Regions from separate parts of the Homo sapiens genome. Here regions 1, 2, 4 and 5 are each linked to region 3. The links are contacts of gene promoters, found by promoter capture Hi-C in human tissues and cell types (Jung and others, 2019). All regions are on one chromosome and are shown on one strand. Each heading gives the region's core, a stretch centred on a gene start or on the middle of the fragment in contact. The rest is flanking DNA. Distances are from core to core; before and after follow the strand shown. Region 1 overlaps KCNU1 (potassium calcium-activated channel subfamily U member 1). Region 2 overlaps LOC105379377 (a long non-coding RNA gene). Region 3 holds the start of ZNF703 (zinc finger protein 703). Region 4 has its middle 340 kb from the start of KCNU1. Region 5 overlaps KCNU1 (potassium calcium-activated channel subfamily U member 1).

The links. Contacts are between HindIII fragments. The study calls those that stand out against the background at their distance.
Region 1: a contact is called between a fragment that was not itself captured here and the fragment with the promoter of ZNF703 in region 3, in 2 of the 25 tissues and cell types used here (IMR-90 fibroblasts and lymphoblastoid cells).
Region 2: a contact is called between a fragment that was not itself captured here and the fragment with the promoter of ZNF703 in region 3, in 1 of the 25 tissues and cell types used here (bladder).
Region 4: a contact is called between a fragment that was not itself captured here and the fragment with the promoter of ZNF703 in region 3, in 3 of the 25 tissues and cell types used here (neural progenitor cells, small bowel and thymus).
Region 5: a contact is called between a fragment that was not itself captured here and the fragment with the promoter of ZNF703 in region 3, in 4 of the 25 tissues and cell types used here (IMR-90 fibroblasts, hippocampus, lymphoblastoid cells and 1 more).

The regions. Positions count from the first base shown.
Region 1 is chr8:36,835,337-36,838,036 of GRCh38, reverse strand. KCNU1 (potassium calcium-activated channel subfamily U member 1) reads right to left here. Exons shown (of 27, transcript NM_001031836.3): 13 at 1,672-1,741; 14 at 1,092-1,244. Among named protein-coding and RNA genes, the nearest start is that of KCNU1, 52 kb to the right of the region's middle. The HindIII fragment of the contact is 5,758 bases long and covers 1-2,700 here.
Region 2 is chr8:37,063,480-37,066,179 of GRCh38, reverse strand. LOC105379377 (a long non-coding RNA gene) reads left to right here. Exons shown (of 7, transcript XR_949675.4): 7 at 1-381. Among named protein-coding and RNA genes, the nearest start is that of KCNU1, 280 kb to the right of the region's middle. The HindIII fragment of the contact is 4,005 bases long and covers 1-2,700 here.
Region 3 is chr8:37,694,508-37,697,207 of GRCh38, reverse strand. It overlaps ZNF703 (zinc finger protein 703), which reads right to left and starts at 1,426. Exons shown (of 2, transcript NM_025069.3): 1 at 986-1,426; 2 at 1-63. The coding sequence starts at 1,228. LOC124901932 (a long non-coding RNA gene) reads right to left here. Exons shown (of 2, transcript XR_007060887.1): 2 at 2,425-2,700. LOC124901933 (a long non-coding RNA gene) reads left to right here and starts at 1,527. Exons shown (of 2, transcript XR_007060888.1): 1 at 1,527-1,768; 2 at 2,225-2,463. RefSeq lists enhancers at 495-1,037, 1,038-1,581 and silencers at 1,316-1,415, 1,466-1,815, 2,603-2,700. The HindIII fragment of the contact is 17,905 bases long and covers 1-2,700 here.
Region 4 is chr8:37,118,444-37,121,143 of GRCh38, reverse strand. No RefSeq gene overlaps it. Among named protein-coding and RNA genes, the nearest start is that of KCNU1, 340 kb to the right of the region's middle. The HindIII fragment of the contact is 8,813 bases long and covers 1-2,700 here.
Region 5 is chr8:36,891,890-36,894,589 of GRCh38, reverse strand. All of the region lies in intron 19 of KCNU1 (potassium calcium-activated channel subfamily U member 1), which reads right to left. All of the region lies in intron 2 of LOC105379375 (a long non-coding RNA gene), which reads left to right. Among named protein-coding and RNA genes, the nearest start is that of KCNU1, 110 kb to the right of the region's middle. The HindIII fragment of the contact is 6,473 bases long and covers 1-2,700 here.

The DNA of each region.
Region 1 (2,700 bases), core at 38-2,537, 860 kb after region 3:
GTTTGTTGCAGTTAGGATATAGCTGGCCAGAGCACCTCTTACTTCTTTTGCTTTTCGTTAAATAGCACCAGGGAAGAAACAGAAAAAGATGCAAATATTTGTACTGAACACAGAAAAAAGAGAACAGAGGAAAGAGCGAGCAAAGAGAGGTCAAGAGGGAAGTCACGTGTATGAAAGGCAAGCATGGACTCAGAATTAAATGGAAAGTAAGGTCATTCTCTGCAAGCACTTTAGAAAAGGAAGACCAGGTCCAGCCAAGGGCTAGCACACCTTGCCTGGAGCATTTCATGGAAATGATATTTGGAAGACCACCTTTTGTGCTACAAAAATTTATCCCAAGAGTCACTTTTAGCCCCTTACTTTGTCTCAGACAAAAATATCAAAAATCTTGATGTGAGACATTGTGTGGAAATAACACCAGAGGCATACAGCATTGTGGTAACAACACTGTGGACCAGACAGTTCTAGCTCTGCGGCTCACTAACTTACTGCATGATCAAGTTAGTTAGCTTCACCAATTCACTGCTGGGATACTAACAACATATTATTGAGGGGAAACACAAGACAGTAGGCACTCATCATGTGGTTACTGTTATTATTCCTGCATGGAATGCTCCCTTAAACAACCTGGAAAAATTAGATTTTAATTACTATTTGTATCATTTCTATTTGATGAATATAATTATTATACCAATTATTATTTTGGATTTAATTTATATTGAAATATATGAATCCTTCATTAATAATATAACCTTTATTTATATTTTCACTTTCGATAACTCAATGCTTCTACTTTGATGAATGTACTTTGATTTAAAACATCCTGGACTGTAGGTAGGAAGCAGAGTTATATTTTTTCTGTTTTGTAGATAAATATTCTTAGGCAGGAATAAAATAAATGATTTCTTCAAGGTCAGTGTGGTACCTGGGACTTTTAAATTCAGATCTTCTAATCCCTTCCCAGCTCAAGCAGAAGTCATATCTCATTGCTTGGGGCCTTGATGCTTTTCTCAAATTTTTTTCCTATTTCTGATCTTAATATGTAGGACATAGGAACAGAGCCAAGAATCAACAGTAATTTACAAGGTTACCTTTTTGTTTTGCTCCACAAATAGAGATGTTAGGAAGGTACACAAGCCTGGCACCAAACAGCCTTGGGCGATAAATCCAAGTTTTAATTCAGCAAAGCAGATGATGTTGTCTCCGGTGTCCCAGTTCCAGCTGGGAATCTTTGGCAGATAAACCTGTTCCATAGCACAAAGCAGGTCAAACATTAGGAATAAACACACCTCAAGAAAGCTCTTGAGGATGGATGTCTTTCTTTTTTTAAATTTACTTGAAATCATATATTCTTCATTTTTGCACACAAAAGTGGTGCCCAGGTCAATGAAAATGATAAGAACAAATTCAGCATTTGAAAGTGGTTAGTGGTCAATGGCTCTCATTTTTTGAAACAAAAATAGCTAGAGTTGCAAAATCAGGTCAAATGACTTAAACTTCTAATTCTGCCCCCAATTTACATTGTTAAGTGATTATCCATCTTAATAAGACTCCAAATTTTACCTATGATTAGCAAAAACTTTTTATTTACACATCCATTAGAAAATTAAAAAGTTCGTCTAGCTATATAGATAAAAGGAGGAGATGGAATATGCTAGAATGTTACTATACCTTGTTATGGGATTGCAGTATCTGTATGATGATTCTGGTGGTAGAATCATAGTTCTTGATAGAGAGCACCCTATATAAACCCCAAACACTCTCATTAGTCATGTGTCATAGCCAAAGGGCTTTGTAATATAATTTAATTCAGAGTTAAATTGATATGTAGGTAAGTGTAGAAAAACTTGGCATATAATAAAGTTTATTGTTGTGTTGTTTTCTAAAAATGTTTTTAGTAGCCTACACAGAAGAGCATCATTGTTTTCATGACTTTGCCAACCAAATCTATGGAATGATTATCTCTTGGTGTTAGAAGACTGTGTTCTTCTGAGACCAATTCTTGAGGAGGAAATCAACAGTTTCATGTTTTAGCTTTCAAACCCAAACCTAATAATTACAGGTAAAAATAGAAATTTGATGGTAGTCTATGGCTTGAAATAGCTCATAGACTGTCTAATTCAACTTCCCCATTTTACAAATTAAGAAACTAAGATCTACGTCATATTTACTGTACTATGTATGGTACAGATTTTCAGCTGTTTCTTGCTATATGTAATGTCACCTTCAGCTATCTGTGTTTATTTTACTCTGGAGATTGGAAGTTCATCTGGATTAGCCAAAATGCCATTGTCATCATAATCACAGTTATCACAAGTCACGTTCTTGCTAGAAGAGTTCACAGTTTAATGTAATAACACTGACTCTAGCCATCTTGAAAATACTTGCCGATGGTCAGGCCAGGCGCAGTGGCCCAGCCTGTAATCCCAGCACTTTGGGAGGCTAAGGTGGACAGATCATCTGAGCTCAGGAGTTCAAGACCAGCCTGACCAACATGGTAAAACCCCATCTCTACTAAAAATAAAAAATTAGTCTGGCGTGGTGGCACATGCCTGTAATCCCAGCTACTTGGAAGGCTGAGGCAGAACTGCTTGCACCGGGGAGGTGGAAGTTGCAGTGAGCCTAGATCACGCCACTGCCCTCCAGCACAGGCAACAAGAGCAAAACTCCGTCTCAAAAAAAAAAAAAGAAAAGAAAAGA
Region 2 (2,700 bases), core at 197-2,696, 630 kb after region 3:
ACATTTAAGATGTGCAACTTGATGTTTTAGTATACGTTATTAAATTATCACCACAATCAAGCTAATTAAACATATCCATTACCTCTGCATAGTTGCAATTGTTTATGTGCGTGTGTGTGTGTGTGTGTGTGTGTAGTGAGAAGATTTAAGATGTGTCCTCTCAGCAAATTACTAGTATACAATACAGTTTTGTTAATTAACATGACCATGCTGTACATAAGGTCTCTAGAAATTATTCATATTTCATAACTGAATCTTTGTATCTTTTGGCCAGTATCACCCTATTTCTTCCTTGACCAGGCCCTGGAAACCACTATCCTACTATCTGCTTCTATAAATTTGACTATTTTCAATTTCACATATAAATGAGATCATGCAGGATTTCTGTTTCTGTGTCTTGTTTGTTTCACCTAGCATAATGTCTTCCAGCTTCATCATGTTGTGGCTAACAGCAGGATTTCCTTCTTTTTTAATAGTATTCTGTTATACACACACATGCGCGCGCGCACACACACACCCACACACACACACCACATTTTCTTTATCCATTCATCTGTTGAAAAACATTTAGGCCATTTCCATAGCTTAGCTTTGTGAATAATCCTGTAATGAACATGATAGTGCAGAGAACTCTTCACAATCCTGATTTCGATTGCTTTAGATACCAAGAACTAGGATTGCTGGATCATGTTAGTTCTATTTTTAAGTTTTTGGAGAACCTTCATACCATTTTCCATAATGGTTTTACTAATTTACATTCTCATCAGCAGTGTATAAGGGTTCTCTTTTCTCCACAGGAAAACAGTCCCATTTACATTAGCAACAAAATAAATAAATAAATAAAATACTTAGAAATTAACTTAACCAAAGAAGTAAAGGACTTATATACTGAAGCTTACAAAGCATTCATGAAGGAAATTTAAAAAGATACAAATAAATGAGAAGATACAAATCCTATGTACCTGGATTGGAGGAATTAATATTGTAAAAATGTCCATACTACCCAAAATGATCTACATATTCAACACAATCTCTATCAAAATCCCAAAGGCACTTTTTAAGAAATAGAAAAAATATTCTTAAATTCCTATGGAATCAAAAGGACCCTGAATAACCAATCTTGAAAAAGAAGAACAAAGCTGAAGGCATCACACTTCCTGACTTCAAATTATATTACAAAGACATAATAAAAAGTACAGTACTTGCATAAAGACAGATGTATATACCATTGGAACAGAATAGACAACCCAGAAATAAACCCATGCATCCAAAGATGCCAAAAAATACATAATGGGGAGAGGATAGTCTCTTCAACAAATGTTGTTAAGAAAACTAGATACCAATATACAAAAGAATGAAACTGAACCCCTATCTCACACCATACACAAAAATCCTCATAGTCTTCACATTGAGTAGGCTGAGGAAGAGGATGAAGCGGAGGGGTTGGTCTTGTCATCTGGGGGCAGGGCAGAGGTAGAAAGAAATCTCTGTATAAGTGAACTTGCACAGTTCAAACTCATGTTGCTCAAGTGTCGGCTGTGTTTGGTTCTACCTTGCATTATAATAAGGTCTTATCTCATTACCAGACCATGTGCTCTAGAGGAAGAGTAGGCTGAAGCTGCTGCCGTTCATTGTATCTCCTGAAACATGTAGCACAAAGTCTTGTGCAAAACTGGAATACAAGACATACACTTTGTTAAATGGAATCATTGTTTTATTGCCATTTCTTATCTTTCCAATTGTACTTAAATTCAGGAAGTGTAAGGCATTCCTAACAAAGTGCCTTACATTTGACATTAATAAGGGTTTGTTGCTTGGTTTATTGGCTTATTGAGCAAGAGAGAGCTAGGTATAAGGATAGTGGAAGACACTCAGGTTCCTGTTTTGAAACTACCACTTACTTGTTGTGGGACCCCAGGCAAGTCACTGCACATATTTAAGCTTCAGTTTGATCATGTAGAAAAGGAGGGTTAAACTAAATGACTTCCACATGAGTTTCTGGTTCCAAGAAATTTTTCTAAGCCTTGCTGACTCCTTCAGGATTCAACCCAGGCTGAGTTGGAAGCAAAATAATTCAGAGGACCAAGTGTGCCAGGCTAGCATAAAGAAGTTAAGAGAGAAATATAAGTTTTGTTATGTTGAAATGCCGAATTATAAGAGATAGAGAATAAAAAAGAAAAAAGGAGAGAGAGAGATCCTGGATACTGGGGAAAGAAGGTGAGCTCAGACAGAAGGGTGAGAACTGAAGCACAAGAAAGCTGATAAAGCAGTGGTTCTCAATGTGGGACAAGATGGAGAAGAGCTGCCACTCCTAGGGGAGGTGGGATTTCACCCATCATTGTAATTGGCATTTAGTAGGTGGGGCCAAGGGGAGCAGACGTCTTGCAATACACTGGTCAGTTCCATACATCAAAAAGTTATCCCATTTCACATGTAATTTTCAAATGTTTCACTGGACATACAGTTGGGTGAAAGACCTATTTGGAATAATCTAAGCCTAAATCTATATTGTGTGTAAATTCAAAAACATTTTTGCACTGTCTGAATACTCCCTGAACCTTTCAGTAAAGCATCAATTCTGTAAATTGACAGAAAATAGGATGGCATTATATTGGTACAAAGCACACAGATGCTAAGGAATGGATATAAATAGATATCAAAGTGACTTGCTAGAGATCTCATCTCTAGGACGTGGTGACA
Region 3 (2,700 bases), core at 177-2,676:
CGGCTTGCCGATCTGCGAGCAGGTCTGAGCCAGCAGCGCCAAGGGGCTCTTCTTGGCGTCCAGCTGTGGGAGACAGAAGCAGGGGGAGGGAGAAGGAGTGAGACTCAGAGGCCTGCGGGGCGAGCGGGGGCGCCCGGGGAGCTGGGCGGCGGCGCCACGGGGCGGGGCGGGCCTGGGGAGAGGGTCTGCGAGCGAGGGCCGGGCCGGGCGCGGCAGCTGGCGGAACTGCGCCCACACTGCCGCTGGGTCCCGGGGTGCGCCGCAGGCCCTGCGGAAGGAGTTCACCCAGGACCCCTGCGGGAGAAGGTGACGTCTCTGGAGTCGGGGCTGTGACTCGCCACTTCCCTCTAATGTCCCCCTCCTCCAGGCCCAGGAAAAAACTTATTCCTTTAGTTTGGGGGAACTTCGCTTGGGACGGGTTTCTGGCGATGGCGCCGCGGGGTAGGAGAGGGGAGCGCGGATTCTAAAGGAGGGGCTGCAGTTGGCGCTCTCTCCGTAGCCCCTCCCTCCCGGGGAGGGCACCCAGGGAAGAGGCAGGAAGAAAGATCCGGGATCGGGAGCGCCAGGGCGCCGTGCGCCCTCACCGGATGGGACAGAGGCGAAGTGGGACCCGGGCAGCCAGGGCTTCAAAGAAAACAGCCCGGCGTGGGGGGCGGGGAAGACCCAGCAGAGACCAACTCCTGGCTGGAAACTGGGGATCAGAGGAAAAGTAAAGGACCCAGAGGGGACTCCAGGAGCAAATCCAATCCGAGAGAAAACACGGAGCTCCGAAGGGCGAGCGTGGAAGGAGACCCTTCCACGGGGAAGCCTGGGGAAGCCCTGGTGGGCTCTGATCCCTCGGTTTTCTTCCCCTCCTCACTCAGCCCGCCAGCGTGACCAGACTTGGGTGTCGCACCGAGCCCCGGGGCGCTGGGAGCTGGGTCAGGGTCCCGGTCGCGGTGGGAGGAATGGGGCCGGCGCCCGGGGGCAGCGGCCGGGGACTGACCTCAATGGGGCTGACGGGAGTGGAGGACAGCGGCTGCAGGTACTCCGGGTGCAGGAGGTGACCGGTGTGAGCGCTCAGCATCTTCAGGACCCTGATCGGGAGCCGGTTCGCCTGGCGCAGGGGGTCCGCCGGTGGCAAGAGGGACACCGCTGCCGGCACCGCCGGCCTCTTCCCGCCGCCGCCGCTGCCGCTGCCGCTGCTTTCGGGTGTCCTTGGGTTAGATCCAGCGGGCGAATCGCTCATTTGGAGGAGGCAGCGCCGCTGGGGGGGCGGGGAGGGCGGGGGAGCACCGGGGAGGCGAGCTCCCGGGGCGGGTGGGCTCGCTCCGCAGCGTCGATCGCGGTGCAGCGGGAGCTGCGCCTCCTCGCCGCCTCCCCTCCTCCACCGACGCCTCCGCCGCCGCCGCCACCGCCGCTGGCCCCGGCTAGCAACACAAAAACCTTCGCCTTCCTCGAGCCGCACGTCAAATAGCCGCGATCGGCAGCCACACTTCAAAGGGATCGCCGCGCCCGCCCAATCGCAGCTCTCGCCGGGACCCCGGGGCGGGGAGAGCGGCGGGCTGAGGCCGGCTCCATCGGTGGGCGGGGAGAGCCTTAAAGGGGCCGCGCCGCGCGCCGCCGCTGCCTCGGTCTCGGCCGCTCCCGGGATTCCTCCCCTCCCCCCGACTGGGCCTTCCTCGCCCTGGGGTCCCCCGCCTGGGACGGGACTTCTCCGGGACCCTGAGCTCTGCGCCCCGTCCTCCTTTCCGGCCGCTCTCTCTCCTCTCTCCCTTCTCACCACTGGGTGGGTGGGGGGTGATGCTGGCGGGGGCTGTAACCCCGCCCGCCGTGTGTGTCCGAGGTGGGGTGGGGTGGGGTGGGGTGGGGTGGGAGGGATCGCACGGCGCGGGCTCTGGGACGCTGGAGTTCAAGCCTCTCCCAGAGGCCGCCTGGGGGCAGGCCTCGCCTCGGGAGCCCGGGTCCTTCTCCAGAGCTGCTCCGGCTCTCCTCGGCCCCGCTCTCCTTCCCCTACTTGGCCTCCCCTTGGTGTGTTCACTTGGAAGCGCCCGAGCCTCGGAGGCACCCACTGTTCTCGGGACGCGGCGTAGGCAGCTCCAACTACTTTGAGCCCGTCTTGTCTGAAGCCTGCAAGTTTGTCTCCCTTCTGGAGTGACATGGTCGGCGACCAAGCGCGGGACCCCAGGCTGTGCGCGCTGTGCCTGCGCCCTGCGTTAGAGGCTCGGTGTCTGGTGTGTTACAGGCTTCTTACCGTGTCCTGCTGAGGGGCGTGAAGTTCCTCACTGTACCGCGCCCAGCTGCTACGAGGAGAGACCGAGATCACGGGCGAGGCGGGTGTCCCTGGAGGGGGATCTCTCTCTAAGCGCTGCTCGGCAACACAACCCCTCCGCCCCCCCATCCTTCTCACTCCGGGGGAAAAAGCACTTGCTTTCCCCAGGCAAATTTCGGGATAAAAACTTTTAATTAAAAATAACAATACCCTTCCCGACTCCCTGCGCCTTTCTGATACAGTGTGCATTGCTAGCTTCGCCCTGGGCAGAGATTTTACGTAGTCATAGTCCTGACATCCAAGTTCCGGATCCGCCGCTTTTCCGGAGGCGAAGTTGGTCCTTTGGGTGCCGAACTCTGGGGAGCCCACTTCTCCGTGCGCTCGGCGGCCAGTGGAGGCGCGCTGGTGTCACTGCCTGGCTCCCAGCACCACTTTTCCAGTCCCGATCC
Region 4 (2,700 bases), core at 165-2,664, 580 kb after region 3:
GCATTTTGCATTTATGTTCATGGAGAATATTGGTCTGAGTCAGGAATTTTTTTCATATGCTTCTATTTTCTGGGCTGTAGAAAACTATCATCTCTTACTTAAATATTTGGTAAAATTCACTAGTGTAATTGTCAGGACATGAGTCTTTCTTTTTTGTACGTTTATTAATTATGATTCAATTTCTTCAATAGATATAGACCTTTGCTGACTATCTATTTATGCTCGTGTGAGTTTTGGTAGTTTATGTCTTTCAAGAAATTTGTCCCATTTATCTAAGTTATCAAATCTGTAGGCATAGAAATGTTAATAGTATTCCTTTATTGTTTTTCTCATGTCTTTGGGCTCAGTAGTGATTATCCCTCTTTCATTTCTCACATTGATAATAAATGTCATCTCTCCTTTGTTCTTGATTAGCCTGGCTATAAGTTCATCACTTTTATTAATTTTTTTGAATGAATCAGCTTTGGATTTTGGGGAGGATTTTTTTCTCTCTCGTTTTTCTGTTTTCAATTTTATTAATCTGCTCTAATTTTATTATTTCTTTTCTTCCTTTTACTTCAGGCTTAAATTGCTTTTCTTTCTCTAGTTTTCTAAGGTAGAAGCTTAGATGATTAATTTTAGATATTTCTTCTTTACTAATATCTGCACTTAATGCTAATAATTTCCTCCTATCCACTGCTTTTGCTGCATCCCATAAATTTTGATAAATTGCACATTTATTTTAATTTAACTGATAATATTTTAAAATTTCAAAGTTTTTTTTTCTTTGGCACACATGTTATTTAAAAGTATGTTGTTTAATTTCCAAATATTTGGGGATTTTCCAATTATCTTTTTGTTATTGATTTTTACTTCAATTCCACTTGGTGTGGGAGCCAACTTTTATAGTATTATCTTCCTATAAATTTGTTAAGGTGTGTTTTATGGCCCAGAATGAGTTTTGTTTTTTTTTTTTTTTTTTTTTTTTTGTAGCAGGGAGTGGGGTTGCGAATGTTCCATGTAAACTTGAGAAGAATGTATATTCTGCTCTTGTTGGATGGAACATTCCATAAATGCCAATTAGATCAAGTTGATTGATAGTACTGTTTAGGCCAACTATATTCTTACTGATTTTCTGTCTGTTTGATCTATCAATTACTGAAATGGGAATGTTGAAGTCTCCAACTATAATAGTGGATTTTCCCCATTTCTCCTTTCAATTATATTATTTCTTTTTCTCTCATGTATTTTGACTCTGCTGTTAGGTACAGGTATATCTAAATGCTAGATAGTATAACATGTAGGATTGTTAAATCTTTTTGGAAAATTGACTTCTGTAACATTATAAAACATTCCCCTTTATTCCCAATAACTTTCCTTGTTATGCAGTCTGCTTTGTCTGAAATTAATATAGCTACTCCAACTTTCTTTTGATTAGTCTTAATATGTTTTAGCATTATTCAGAATTTTTCAGAGAAACAGAACCAATGGCACATACATATACAAGGAAACAGATGTATTAGAATGAGTTCTCTTGCTCATTATGAAGGCTGGTTAGTACAAAATCTGCAGTGTGAACTGGTAGTCTTAAGATCCAGGGAGAGCCAATGGTGCAGTTCTAGTCCAAAGGAAGTCTGGTGGGAAGGTTTCTATTGACTGAGGAGGCTGGTCTTTTTATTCCATTTAGACTTTCAACTGATTAGATGAGGCCCATGTACATTAAGGAGAGTATTCTGCTTATTCAAAGTTCACTGATTTAAGTGTTAATCTTATCCAAAAACACCCTCCAAACTGACATACAAAATTTATCAATCATCATAAGATCACCTCTTATCAACTTAGCACCTGTCTAGTCAGCTCAGAATACCATAGATTGGGTGGCTTAAACAACAGACATTTGTTTCTTACAATTCTAAAGACTGGGAAGTGCAAGAACAAGGTGCTGGTAGATTCAGTTTTTGGTGAAGGTATTCTTCCTGGCTTGCAGATTGCCACATTTTCACAATGTCTTCATATGAAAGAGAGAGAAAGAAAGAGCTCTGGTATTTCCTCTTCTTCAGATAAGGAAACTAATTCCATTCTGAGGGGTGGCACTGGACTGAATATTTATATCCCTCCTAAATTTATATAATGAATTTCCAGCCCCCAAGGTAATGATACTAAGAGATGGGTCTTTGGCGAGGTGATTAGGCTGTGAGGGTGAAGCCCTCATGAATCAGATTAGTGCCCCTATAAAAGAGATCCTGGAGAGATCTCTCATCCTTTCCCTCATGTAAGGACACAGTGAGAAGATGGCTGTCCATTGATACACCAGGAAGAGGACCCTTACCAGTCACCAAATCTACCTGCACCTTGATCTTGGACTTCCCAGCCTCCAGTACTGTGGGAAATAAATTTCTGTTGTTTATAAGCTACCCAATTTATGGTATCTTGTTATAGCAATCCAAATGCACTATGAAGGGATTCAACATCCAAGACACAACTCACAAAGGCTGCACCTCCAAATGCCATTACATTGGGAGTTAGGGCTTCAACATGTACATTTTGGAGGAGAACACACATTCAGTCCATAATAGCACCCATAAACTATACTTAATACCTGAATGAAAACAATACTAAGGTCATATTTCCACCTAACATGGTACAACCAAAAACATACTACCCCTTTTTTCAGAAGAGGATGGAACGTCCTTAGATGATGTATACTATTTTCCTTGATCT
Region 5 (2,700 bases), core at 157-2,656, 800 kb after region 3:
GCTGAGAGAAACCACTCACAACTATTTTCCTCATTTTTAAGTGATATTGATATTGCTTCTGATGTCTTCAATTCTTCCAGCAGTGATTTTTGCTGAAAGGTTAATAGTACTAGGTAGTTTTATTTTGTCTGGATACATTTTTTCATCTGCTGCAATCAAACACAATTTAATTGATTCACCATTAGTAAATGACTTCTCTTGCTTGGCTAACAAGTGAGTCACTCAGAAACAAACTTTGATTACAAATTCTGCTGTGCTAAGATGTTCTTTTAAAATTTTATAATTTTTCTAACCATGGCTTTACCATGAATTGAGAATATTGTGATAAGTGCCAAGTTTGATAATATCAACATATATTGTAGTCTTTTACCACAGTATACTTTCATTGAAATTAAGCACAATGCTTTTGTATGGCAAACCATATAAAAACAGGTAGTGAAGTGGATTTTGACTTCTAATCTAGAAAGCAGCCTGACATCATTTTAAAATAGCATTTGCATAGACCAAAGATATCACAAATACTCAGTGGCATTTGTTAATCGAAAATTTTTTCATGAATTATCTATATTTCTAACATTTTTGGATTTTTGGCTTGCAGATTAAAAGTGTCAAGTTAGAGATGAAGGAAGGCGTTGCTGCAAAGAGATGGTCTTAAACCAGGTTAAGGGACCATTACAAGTTTAATAGGAAGATGAAAAATAACTATAAAAAGTAACTACAAGGGACATTCTTCCAGAATGGCAGAGTTAGGGCCTTTGAATATTCACTATTCTACACAAGCAATGAGAATATTGACAAAAAAATTATCAAAATCAACATCTTCAGAGTTCTGGAAATAAACTGGAGACTTGAAACAATATGAGGAGTATTTGTTTAAGAAAAATGGTGAGATCTTGGTAAGAACAATAAGCTTCATGGCATTTTTGAGAAGTGCTATTCCCATTCCACTATCTTTAGTTCAACAGTAGCCATCAAGATCAGAAGCCTTACAATAACAGTAGCTCTGAAAACCAGCAGTCTAGCAGCCACCAGAGAGAAAAAATAGATCTGAAGCTGTTAAATATCCTTATTCACAGAATATGTTACTATTTGAGCTTTCTAGCAGCTCCCTGGAAGTGCACACTCACAGGGCTTATCTTTATTTGGCCTGGGAGTTTTCTCAGTGGAATTTTTCCGGAGGCATTTTAAAAAAATAATCAGCAGTAATTTTTTTAAATTGCAAATATCTGAGTTATAGTTAACAATGTCGCAAAAAAAAAAAAGACCCATAAAAATCTTCAAAAGAAAAAGCTGGAGAATTAGAAGTCTATAGAGAGGGCCAGATGTGGTGGCTCATGCCTGTAATCCCAGCACTTTGGGAGGCTGAAGCAGGTGGATCACCAGAGGCCAGGAGTTCAAGACTAACCTGGGCAACATGGCGAAACCTCATCTTTACAAAAAAAAAACAAAAAAAAACAAAAAGTAGCTAGGCATGGTGGCTCACACCTGTAATAACAGCTACTTGAGAGGCTGAGTCAGGAGAATTGCTTGATCCCAGGAGGCAGATGTTGCAGTGAGCTGAGATCATGCCACTGCATGCTGTCCTGGGTGACAAAGCAAGACTCTGTCTCAAATAAAACAAAAGAAAATAACAGACTTCTATAGAGGGTATTAAAAGGTTTTGAAACATTCACTGTAGGAAACTGAATAAAAATAAAACCATGTGCATGTGCAGAGTTGTAAATACACCCAGGGGAAAAAAAACCTGAGGTATTCCTAATCTCTTCTGGCTGATCTTGAGACTGCACAAACCAAAAATGAAGGCTTAGGCAAAGATGTAAACTGCTAAAGTGTCAAAGGAATTACCTCAACATGCACACAGAATCCCTTGGCAAATATAAGAAGACTTATCAGTTCAAGGCATTTAAGGAAATCTCAGTGCAATCATTAGCTGATCATAAAGCTGAGTAGAGATTTAAGTGTCAATATACAATAAACCATAGCAAAATAGTTTGTAGAGTTGTCATATAATATTATTTAAAATGCCTGGCTTTCAACAAAAAATTATGAGACACAAAGACACAGTAAGTATGGACCATACCTGGTGGGGGGTGGGGGGTGGGAACACCAATAGAAACTGTCCGGAAGGAAGCCCAGACTTTCTAGGCAAAGATTTTATAAGAGCCATTATAAATATATTTAAAGGACTAACTGAAACCATTTTTAAAGAACTAAAGAAAAGTATGAGAACAATATAGCACTGAATACAAAATATCAGTGAGGAGATAGATTATAAGAAAAAAACAAATGGAAATTCTGGAGTTAAGAAGTACAATAACTGAAAAGAAAATTTTAGTGAAGGAGCTCAGCAGCAGATCTGAGTTGGCAGAAGAAGGAATAAATGAGCTTGAATATAAGTCAATGGAGATAATGCAGTCAGAAAAATAGAAATAAAAACCTATTGAAGAAATATACACAGAAGCTTCAGAAAACTGTGGGACATCATCAAGTGTATCAACATACACAAAATGGGAGTTTCAGAAATGGGGGAGAGAGAGAAAGAAGAAAGAGTACTTAGATAATGGACACAAATTTTACATATTTAATGAAAACATTAACTTACATATCTAAGCAGCTAAAGGAAGTTTAAAGTAGAGTAATCTCAAAGAGATTCAGACCTGGATATACCATAATCAAATTGTTCAGAGCCAAGGGCAAAGA